2 separate regions of the Homo sapiens genome follow, and region 1 is linked to region 2. Evidence: promoter capture Hi-C in 16 types of primary human blood cells and fetal thymus (Javierre and others, 2016). All regions are on one chromosome and are shown on one strand. The core of a region is centred on a gene start or on the middle of the fragment in contact, and the rest is flanking DNA. Distances in the headings are between cores, read along the strand shown.

The links. Contacts are between HindIII fragments. The CHiCAGO score rates a contact against its expected background, and 5 or more counts as called.
Region 1: a contact is called between a fragment that was not itself captured here and the fragment with the promoter of OR8A1 in region 2, in 1 of 17 cell types (total B cells). The highest score is 7.9, in total B cells.

What each region holds. Positions count from the first base shown.
Region 1 is chr11:124,041,093-124,046,209 of GRCh38, reverse strand. It overlaps OR10G7 (olfactory receptor family 10 subfamily G member 7), which reads left to right and starts at 4,885. Exons shown (of 2, transcript NM_001004463.2): 1 at 4,885-5,117. The HindIII fragment of the contact is 4,132 bases long and covers 377-4,508 here.
Region 2 is chr11:124,567,592-124,573,340 of GRCh38, reverse strand. OR8A1 (olfactory receptor family 8 subfamily A member 1) reads right to left here and starts at 3,344. Exons shown (of 1, transcript NM_001005194.2): 1 at 1,967-3,344. The coding sequence starts at 3,221. The coding sequence ends at 2,292. The HindIII fragment of the contact is 5,869 bases long and covers 1-4,729 here.

The sequences.
Region 1 (5,117 bases), core at 1,193-3,692, 530 kb after region 2:
TTTAGAGAAATCCCCACACTGTTTTCCATAATGTTAACTTACATTCCCTATGGCCACTTTACTCAAACATATTCATTTTTATGGATATTTAATTTTTTAACAGTTTTTTAATATTTTCCCAAATAAAAAAGTACTGTTAGAAAAATAGGTAGACATAAGTGCATGTATAATGCACTATGATAATCTTATTAACCCATGTAGTTATCCATATTTGAGACTTTACTAAAGATAAGTAAACCTAAGTAGAAATCCTATAAAATTAATGAATATTATGGTTTTGAAGATTATTATTAAATTGTTTACTTTGTTAGCACCAGTGCTTGCAAGAGCCAACTTTACCAGTGTTATTATTTAATTACTTAAAAGTTTTAAAGCTTTTACCATAAGCAGTTTTCAACCAACTATCTTTAATCTTCATTTTTGGTTATTCTTAAAGCTAAACATATTTACAAATTTGTATTTATTATTTTTCTTTATAGCAACTAAAAAAAGTGAGGTTGGTTTAGGACCAGATTAATTTAAAAATGGAATAGAATAGACAGCATAAAAACACACCCCTTGCATATTTGATTTAAGTCAAAGCTGGCATGGAAGATTATGGTAAATGTATTTTTCCAATAAATTATGCTTGGACAACTGAATCAACATGGAACAAATCAGATTAATCTCTTACCACATACTATACACAAAATCAATTCCAGGGCCATTATAAACTCAAATTTTTATAACAAATAATACGGCTTTTACAAATTGAATTGGGGAAAAACTTTCTGATGCAGGTATAGAAACTAAGAGAAATAAAAGAAACATCATTCGTTTTGGTTACTTTAATATTGAGAATAATATTAAAATAGTAAAAAATAAAAATAAAAAGTGAAAAAGATGTTACTTATAACAAATATTACTATCAAGGACTGGTATTCAAAATATATAAAGAATTTCTAAAATTTATATTAAAATCAAGCAATCCAATATAAATAAATGTAGGTAAATTACTTGGCCAGGCTTCATAAAAGAAGAAATACAATTGGCCAATAAACAAAAGAAAATCTACTCTATCACTTTAAGAGTTAGGGAAATGCAAATTAAAATTGCATTAAAATTATGCCTAAAGTAAATGTCAAAATTGTCAATTGCAAGAACTTTCACACATTTCTAAAGGGAATATAAATTTATAGAATTACTTTTTAAAAAAGGTTTATTACTTTCAAATAAGCTGGAAGATATCTTCCTCACAATATCAACATTTCCATGTAGAAACTCAGGCTTATGTGCCCAGGGTAATGTATAAGAGTATTTAAGGCGGGATTTTTGTTATAACCAAAATTTGAAAACCCAAGTATCTACCAAGTGTGTATTTTACAATGGAACAATGCATATGAATTAAATGAATAAATTTATTGCTGTACATATCAATATGTACATGTCTTCAAAACATAATTTTAAATATTACATTAGAGCAAATGTGATTGCGATTTTTGCCATTAAATGCAATAGCAAAAACCGTAATTACTTTTGCCCAACCGTATAGAAACTCTATATTAAATATAACTATGATTCCACTTACATAAGTTTTTAAAAGGCAAAATTTAACTGTATTGTTTAAAGATACCCTCAAAATTAGTACGAAATTGAGATTCTCATGATAGCGGAATGGAAGGAGATTGACTTCAGGAAGAGATGTGAAGGCTCAAAGGTTGCTGGCAATACTTACTTTTTTAATTTGGGTGGTGGAGACATGAATGTTTGCTTTAGAATACATCTGGCCTGTGTCTGTACGAAGTTTTATCTATTTACTTTATATTTCACAACACAACGCAAATGATGAAAATAAAAATAGTTAATTTGGAGATGTTCAATTCTGGCCCGTGATACAATAACAAGGATTAGATTTCTCCTCTCACAATATAGACATAGAACACTGGACCCCAAAATATATATTAAAACAGGTATTTTCAGACATTGAACAACAAGTAGCACAAGACTGTGATCCCCAAGAAAGGAAAAGCAAATGAGGTGAGCACTCTGTTTGGAGGCACATTCTGAGCCATGGTGCATGGATAGGGGTCTGAAGCAGAGCACAACAGTTTTGCTGATTTTCAGGAACAGAGTTCTGAGTTAAAATATATAAATAATACAAAATTTACACACACTCTATCAGAAAATTGAATAGGCAAGAAACGTCCCAACTCATTCGATGATTTCAGTATTATCTTGATACAAAAACAAGACAAAGACATTATAGGAAAAGAGCTATCAATTTATATTCTTTATAAACAAGTATATTAAAATTCCTAATAAAATTTTCCAAATTGAATTTAATATATATGAAAAAAATGATTTGCATCATAATCAACCAGGTTGATTCCAGGAATGTAAGTATAGTTTAATATTCAGTACTCAAGCAACATAATTTGCCGTATTAACAAACTGAAAAAGAAAAACTATATGACTGTCTCAATAGATGCAGAAAATGCACTCGACAAATTGCAAAAGCCATTTCTGGTAAAAAAAAATCTCAGCTAACTAGGGGATAGAAGGAACCAATCTCATTTGTCAAACAGAAAAACAAAACAAACACAACAAAAAAAACCCCACAGCTGACGTCATGCTTAGTAGTAAAAAAAACTAGATATTTTCCCCTAAGATCAAGAACCTAGCATGTCTACTGCCACCACTTCTATTCAACATTGAGCTACAGTTTCTAGACAGGACATTTAGCTAAGAAAAAGAACTAAAAGGAATCTAGATTGTAAAGGAGAAGTAAACTGTCTGTGTTTGCACACGACATGGTCATCTATGTAGAAAATCTGATGGAATATCTAAAAAGACTATAGGAACTGATAAGTGAGTTTAGCTGAGTTGTAAGATATAAGATTTATATGCAATAATCAATCAACTCTATGTATTAACAACGAACAATTGGAAGTTGAAATTTTAGAAGTACTATTTAAAATAGCATCAAAATAAAATATTCCTAGTGATAAACCTGACAAAATATACTGGATATGAGCACTGAAACGACACAACATTGTTGAGAGAAACAAAAGAGATCAACAGTATTTGTGATCAAACATAATCCAGTATTACTAAGATAGCAATTGTCCCAAATTTATTGATAGATTGAATGCAATTCCAATCAAAATCACAGCAGGCTTTTGTGTGTGTAAATAAACAATTTTTTGTGTAAAATTTATATGGAAACGCAAAGGACTTTTTTATTTTATTTTATTTTATTTTTGAGACAGAGTCTCGTTCTTACCCAGGCTGGAGTGCAGTGGCGTGATCTCGGCTCACTGCAAGCTCCATCTCCCGGGTTCACGCCATTCTCCTGCCTCAGCCTCCCAAGCAGCTGGGACTACAGGCGCCCACTACCATGCCTGGCTAATTTTTTGTATTTTTAGTAGAGACGGGGTTTCGCCGTGTTAACCAGGATGGTCTCGATCTCGTGACCTCCTGATCCGCCTGCCTCAGCCTCCCAAAGTGCTGGGATTACAGGCGTGAGCCACCGCACCCGGCCGCAAAGGACTTTGAATAGCAAAAGTAATTGTGAAAAAAACAGAGAAATGGCTCAGTGGCAGAGGAGGCCCAGTGATGAATACGGTTGGTAAACAGGAATGCCTGGACTTCTACGCTTCTCTAGTCTTTGTTAGAGTATCAACAAGTCACCAGACTGTGTGGGTGGATTCAGCTGTGCCTTTTTCCATGTGCAAAGAACTATCAATGCAGAATTCTTGATGATGTTTAGAAGTTCTGGCGTGTTTATCACATAAAATCCCACTGGGTTTTAGTGAAACAGCCAAAAATGATGGATAATTCCTTTCTTTTTCTTAAAGAAATTAAAACTCAGCAAATGTTACTATTGAACTCCTCTTCCTGGAAAAAGGCACAGACAAGTTGTGTAGCACTCACAACAGACCTAAGTAATTCCTAAACCATTGCTAGGTGGGTGACAATAGTGTCTTCTACCAATACAGCAAGACAGAAAAGAAAGATAACAAATGTTTACTTTTGGAAAGAAAGACAAAAGTATCATTTTATAAAGATAATGTAACTGTATACTGTATACCAAGAAAATTGATAAGTTACACTGAAAGCACAAGTTAATAGTATTCACAAAGATAAGTACAGAAAGTTGGATAGAAGTTTCAATTAACAAAAATTGATAGCATATATTTGATAAAGAGATTTCAAAATATAATTGGAGCTAAATTGAAAGTAATTACTAAAATAATATTGTGATTTTACATTGATTAAATATGCCTTATACTAAATGGATAACCAATGTCAGAAAAATGGGTAATTTGGTAATTTAATTGGAAAAAAATATTAATTCAGGGGACTTCAGTTCTTCAAATTCCATTCCATATAGGACTATATTTTCCATATGCAGATGAGAGCATTTCTATTAGCACAAAAGGCTCATGAAACTGCAATTGTCCTCCAAAACTAACAGTGCTTTGGGCATCTACATTAGACCAGTTTTTCTTGTTGTTTTCATGAAAGCTTTTTCCTAATAGCTAAGAAATATATTAATTATGGAAGAAAAGCATACCTTCATTCTCTTTAATTGTATTAATTCAAGCTAAAAAATAAAAGAAAGTTTCACAGAAAATTTAAATACATTTTAAAGTTTAGAAGATATGAAAGAACAAAGGCAAAGTCTCTGAGAAGAACAGAAAATCTCTGAACTAGCATCCATTCTCAGCCAGGAACTTGCACAGTGAGAGTCTGCCAAGCCCCAGAGGGAGGAAGTTTAATTAGGAAGATGTTTATCTACAGGGAGTAGTACTCTGATCATCCCTGGAGCACAGAAAATCCGGAGCTTCTTTTTGTGACTCACCACAAAGTTAAAGATTTATCAGAGAGACTATGCACCTCTTCAGATAATTAGCTCCTTTATAACTAAAACCCATATTTACTATTATTAAATTTAAAAAAGAAATAGGAAAAAAATCATTCCCTGCACAAGGAGTTTTCAGATCCAGAGTGTCATAGTTATTCATTTTGGAAGTTGATTTTTGGCTAAATAAAAAGGTTTATGGAATGATGGCCATCCAATGCAGAATCAACTTTAGCAGATGCATTTGGAAAAAATTCCAAGTGTTTATCATGAT
Region 2 (5,749 bases), core at 2,095-4,594:
TAGTTGCATTTTCATTTTCGTTTCATTCAAAATATTTTAAAATTTCTCTTGAGATTTTCTTCTTTGACTCATGTGCTATTTAGAAATGTGTTGTTTAATTTCAAAATATTTAATGATTTTTCAGTTATCTTTCTGTTATTGATTTCTCGTTTAATTTCATTGTGGTCTGAGAGCAGACAGCAGACATTGTATGATTTCTATTTCTTTAAATCAGTTAAGGTGTGTTTTATGGTCCAGAATGTGGTCTTTCTTGGTTTTCTGCTTCATCTTTTTTCTACTCCCTTCTTTCGTGCATCTTATCTCTCTCAGCAGCCATTCTGACCTGCCTAATGTGTATTTTACGTTATGGTCTTTTTTCTTTCTAAGTGTGCTTTTTTTGGGGTGTGTGCACATGCAATTTTAATATACATAAATAATATGTTTTATATCTCATTATCTTTCTTACTTTTCTCACACAGCACTATACCTCTAAACTATATTGTGTATAGCTAATCCTTTGCTTCTAACTGTTGAAGAGTCTATAAATTGTAAGTAAGTAGATACAATTTATCTACTTACTTTCCCAATGGTGGACACTTATTTTATCTCTAAGTTCCCATCGCCAAAAATAATGGTATAATGAATGCCTTTGTACATGCCATCTTATAGGCCTGAAAGAGAATGATTTGGGACTATATATACCTTGGACCAGATTTGCTATGCCCTGTGGATACCTATACTTATTTTTCCTAAGTAATGTCTTACTGTTTTCCAGAATAGCTGTAGTATATGGGGGTTCCTAAATCCCTACCTCCTTACTAACACTTAGCACCATCCAGCTTTTAAAATTTGTGCTAATCTTATAAACGTAAAAAGATATATCACTGTTTTAATTTGCGCTTCTATGTTTAGTAATCGGTTTGAGCATCTCTTCACATGCTCTGTGGTACTTCAGGTTTTCTCTTTTGTAAATTGTTCTATATACCTTGCTCATTTTTTTTCTTGCTAAAGTTGATGTCTTTTTCTTGCTGGTTTGCTAGGGTTTATTATTATATATGCTAGTTAGGCATCTTTTCCCATCCTATTATAGTTGTTGCCCATAAAGAGAAAGAGGTTTGGGCAGATGATAAAAGGAAGGGATTTGAGAAATTATTTTCAGAAGAAATTATTTTCATCCAATTTGAAATTGGATGAGCATAATTATGGGAGGTTTAATAGGCTGTTCAAAGGGACGGCTAGACTAAAGTGAAGGAAGTAATGTGTGAGTGCCCAGAGTCTGGGCTCTGGAAGCCACTTGGACTGGGGTTTGAATCTCAGTGTTGTTACTCCTGCTCCAAGTTCCATATCTGTGAAATGAGAATAGAATAGTACCTACTTGTTGTGTAGTATAATTGAAATAGAATAGAAAGCACGTAGAAGAATTGCATGGATCAGAGTCAGCATCCAAAAACATGTTAGCTGCTGTTATCATTATTATTAGTGTTACTAAGAAAATTACATAAAGAGATCAGGAAATTCTTGGGCAGGGGTAAGTAGAGATACTTTGCCTCTCTTTGCCTCATTTGTTCCCAAGTACAAAAAGAAAAAAAATTGGCCAGGCGCAGTGCCTCACACCTGTAATTCCAGCACTTTGGGAGGCCAAGGCAGGTGGCTCACTTGAGGTCAGGAGTTCAAGACCAGCCTGGCAAACATGGTGAAACCCCGTCTCTACTAAAAATACAAAAATTAGCTGGGCATGGTGGCAGATGCCTATAATCCCAGCTACTCGGGAGGCTAAGGCAGGAGAATCACTTGAACCTGGGAGGCGGAGGTTGCAGTGAGCCGAGATCGTGCCACTGTACTCCAGCCTGGGCTGGAGTGAGACTCTGTCACCAAAAAGAAAAAAAAAAAGAAAAAAATTGGGCTGAGTAATATTTTCTATATAGAAGATAATAAGACCATGAATGACCCTAAAACTCAATGTTGAAAGTTTAGCATTTAAGTTAAATTACAATTAAGATAGGAAACATTTATTAAAGGGCTTGGGGTAGAGGGATGGATCTCAAGTGAAAGAAAACCTGAACCTGAAGTTGGCTGGCTTCAAAGAGAAGTGAAAAAAGAGGGAGGGAAGGAAGAGGAAAGAAGAGGAAGGAAGGAAGAGGAAGGAAGAGGAAAGGAAGAGGGAAGGAAGAGGAAAGAAGGAAAAATGCCCATTCACCCAGCCATGTGGAGAAGTGATTATTTTCCATCCACAGCTGGCCAGCATTCAGAAGCTGTCACTCTGGTATTTATAACAATTACCACTAAATTGAAAAGGAACAATAACATTTGCATCAAAACAGTTTACCCCTCAGCGTTTTCTGCACGGCAGCCTTTACTTCCTTGTTCCTCAGGCTGTAGATTAGGGGATTCAACATGGGGATTACCGTGGTGTAGAACACAGAGGCCACATTCTCCTGGGTCAAGGAACTGATTGTGGAGGGTTTTAAGTACATGAATGCAGTTGATCCATAGAACATTCCCACGGCTGCAAGGTGGGAGCTGCAGGTGCTGAAGGCTTTGGATCTCCCCTCTGTGGTGCTGATGCCGAGGATGCTGGAGAGAATGAAGGTGTAAGAAACAAGAACTGTTAAGCTCGTGACTATGATGTTGAATCCAGCCGAAAAGAAGACTGTCATCTCAACATCATAGGTGCTAGAGCAGGACAGCTTCATGAGAGGGAGGATGTCACAGAAGTAGTGACTGATGAGGTGCTCACAATAGGGCAGTTTTAACATGAGGCCAGTTTCTATTGTGGAGCCAATGAGTCCGATGGCGTAGACCACAGCCACCAGCAGCAGGCAGGTGTGATGAGACATAATGATGTTGTAAAGCAAAGGGTGGCAGATGGCAACATAGCGGTCGTAGGCCATCACTGTCAGCATGTAACACTCAGCAATGACAAAAACAAGGAAGAAGTAGAGCTGTGACATGCACCCTGCGTAGGAGATGATGTTTTTCTCTGACACAAAGTTCACCAGCATCTTAGGGGTAATGACGGAGGAGTAGCAGAGATCCATGAGTGACAGATTGCTGAGAAAGTAGTACATGGGGGTGTGCAGCTGAGAGTTCAGACAAATTAGAGTGATCATGCCCAGGTTCCCCACGATGGTGACCAAGTAGATCCCGAGGAAGAGGAGAAAGAGGGGGAGCTGGAGGTCTGCTCTCTTCGTTAAACCCTTGAGAATGAACTCTGTCACTGTAGAGTGATTTCCTGCAGCCATTCTCCTCTGGGTGGGAGGCCTGCAGGGATGCATGGGAGACAAGAACCCCATTAAAAGGCTAATCTTGGACGGCTAGTCTTGAGCCTTTGGTGCTAGTGAAACATCCTGGGCTCTCTGCTGATGCATCCTCCCCGCCCTCCTCCCCTCGTCCTGCTATTTGCTGGTCTTCTTTGCAGGAAGACCAGCGTGAGTGTTTCAGGGATCATGAAGATGGGAGGAAAGCAGGCCAAGGTCTGGATCTTTTACCATGCACATTTTTCTAAAGCATCCTGGGGCAGTGTTTCTCAAAGGGTAGTCCCTGGACCAGCAGCACTGACATTACCTGGAGTTTTTTAGAGATGCAAATTCTCAGGCCTCAGCTCACACCTAATTAATCAGAAACTCTGGATATGGGGCCCAGCAATCTATGTATTAACAATCTTTCTGGTGATGGTGTTGCATAGTAAAGTTTGAGAATCTCTACATTGTAGATAAGTAGTATATTTCATATTTTGTAGTTGGGGATGGATTTTGCTTTAGAAATAAACTTCCTTTGTCATGTATATAATTCCTAAATATTCACTGAATGTGAACATGTAAATACCTATCTGAAATTTACGCAGTGTCAGGGTGATAGGGTAGTTACAAGCTGTGTCATTGGCTGACACATCAATTTCTATGTCTGAAAGATGAAGAAATTAATATTGATTCCAAAGGTGGTTGTAAAAATAACACAGGATAATGCATATTTAGAAATCTTTTTTCAAATACTCAGTGCCTATAAAAAATGTGAATTGTCATTAAGAGTCTGGAATTTGTTCTTAATTTCTTACTTGACCTGAGGTCCTAAGGCAGTGGTTCTCAGCATTGGCTATACATTATAATCACACGGGGCATTTACAAAGGATTGATACCTGGGTTCTACCCGTAGATGTTCTGATTTAATTGATCTGTGGTGCAACATGAGCACTGGCCCATTGAATGTTCCATACTAAGTGCTAAATAGCTAATTATTATTATTATTATTTTCAGATCATAATATCAAACCTTTGTCCTATTACATCCCTGATGACAAAGTATTCAAATTACAGGCATATCTCCAGGAAGCATGAATAATCATTGCTGGATACAATATGTATAGACAGTCTTATCTGTGGGATGTATTTCTTAAGCTATAAAACATATTACCCCTATTTTAATTGCTTCCTTATGTAATTACTAACTTTTGCATAATGCTTTACAGCTTACACATTTCTTTCAAAGGTCGATCTCATTAACTTCTGAAGTTTTCGGAAATGGGGAGAAATGTGTTTAGGGAAGGATTTTTATTTTCATGTTTGTATTGAGAAAACTGAGGTGCCAGACACTAAGTGATTTGCCCAAGGTTTACTAATTATTGGTGACTTGGAACTCAAACTTACCTCGGCTCTGTCCTGATCATGAGTTTCCTCTTTTGCCTCACATGTGCAGCCTTGTAAATCTGCACACTCACAGCTCTTAGCAATGTATGATTAAAATAGGTTTAAGCTTGATATCTTAGTATATGCATAGCATAGGAAAAATGCTGTATTTTGTTTCGTTGTCTAGGAAATTGAAGCTCTAAAAGTTAAATAAGTCACCCAAGGAAACCCAGCTAGTAAGAGGCAAAACTGGGCCTAAAACCCAGGACTTCTGACCACCAGTGTGTTTTGTCTCCACTAAACTAAATTGTTTTGTTTTAGCGTATCTTTGTGTAGCACTTTATTATTATTTAATAACATTTAATTTATATAATTTTTGAAGATAGAGGAAAGATCTATTGCTAATTTTGGATGCATTTAAAAAAATTATAAAGGCAATATATAGGCATTGTAGTGAATTAGAAATGCAAATAAGCAAAAATTTAAAACAACCATTTTCCACCACTTGGAACCAAACGGTGGTAGTGAATATCCTTCTAGACTTTTCCTATGCATATATGTATTTACATGTATATAAATATATATGTATTTTTACAAAAACATTTGTAATCTGCTTTTTAAACATAGCATTCACAAATGTATTGTCTCATTTGATTCCTATAACTGGCACTAACTGTATTCTTTTTTCTTAGAAGTAAGAGTCTTTAAAATCATTAGGACGTGGTGTGAAGACAAAGTCTGAATTGCATTGTAAGCTTTTATATCAAATTATTGGTAATGAGGCATTTAACTTTACAATAACTAGTATGAGAGGTAGCTAAGATTTTTAAAATTCACGTTAAGCATTCCCAATCTGAAAACTCAAAGTCCAAAATCTGAAACTTGTTGAGGGCCAACATGAACCACAAGTGGAAAATTCCACACCTCCTCTCATGTGACTAGTCTCAGTGAAAATACAGTCAAAACTGTTTCATGCACAAAATTATTAAAAATATGGTATAAAATTACCTTCAGCCTATGTGTATAAGATGTATATGAAGCATATATAAATTTCATGTTTAGACTTGGATCTCATCCTCAAGATATCTCATTATGTATATACAAACATTCTAAAACCGGAAAAAAATTCGAAATTCAAGACATTTCTAG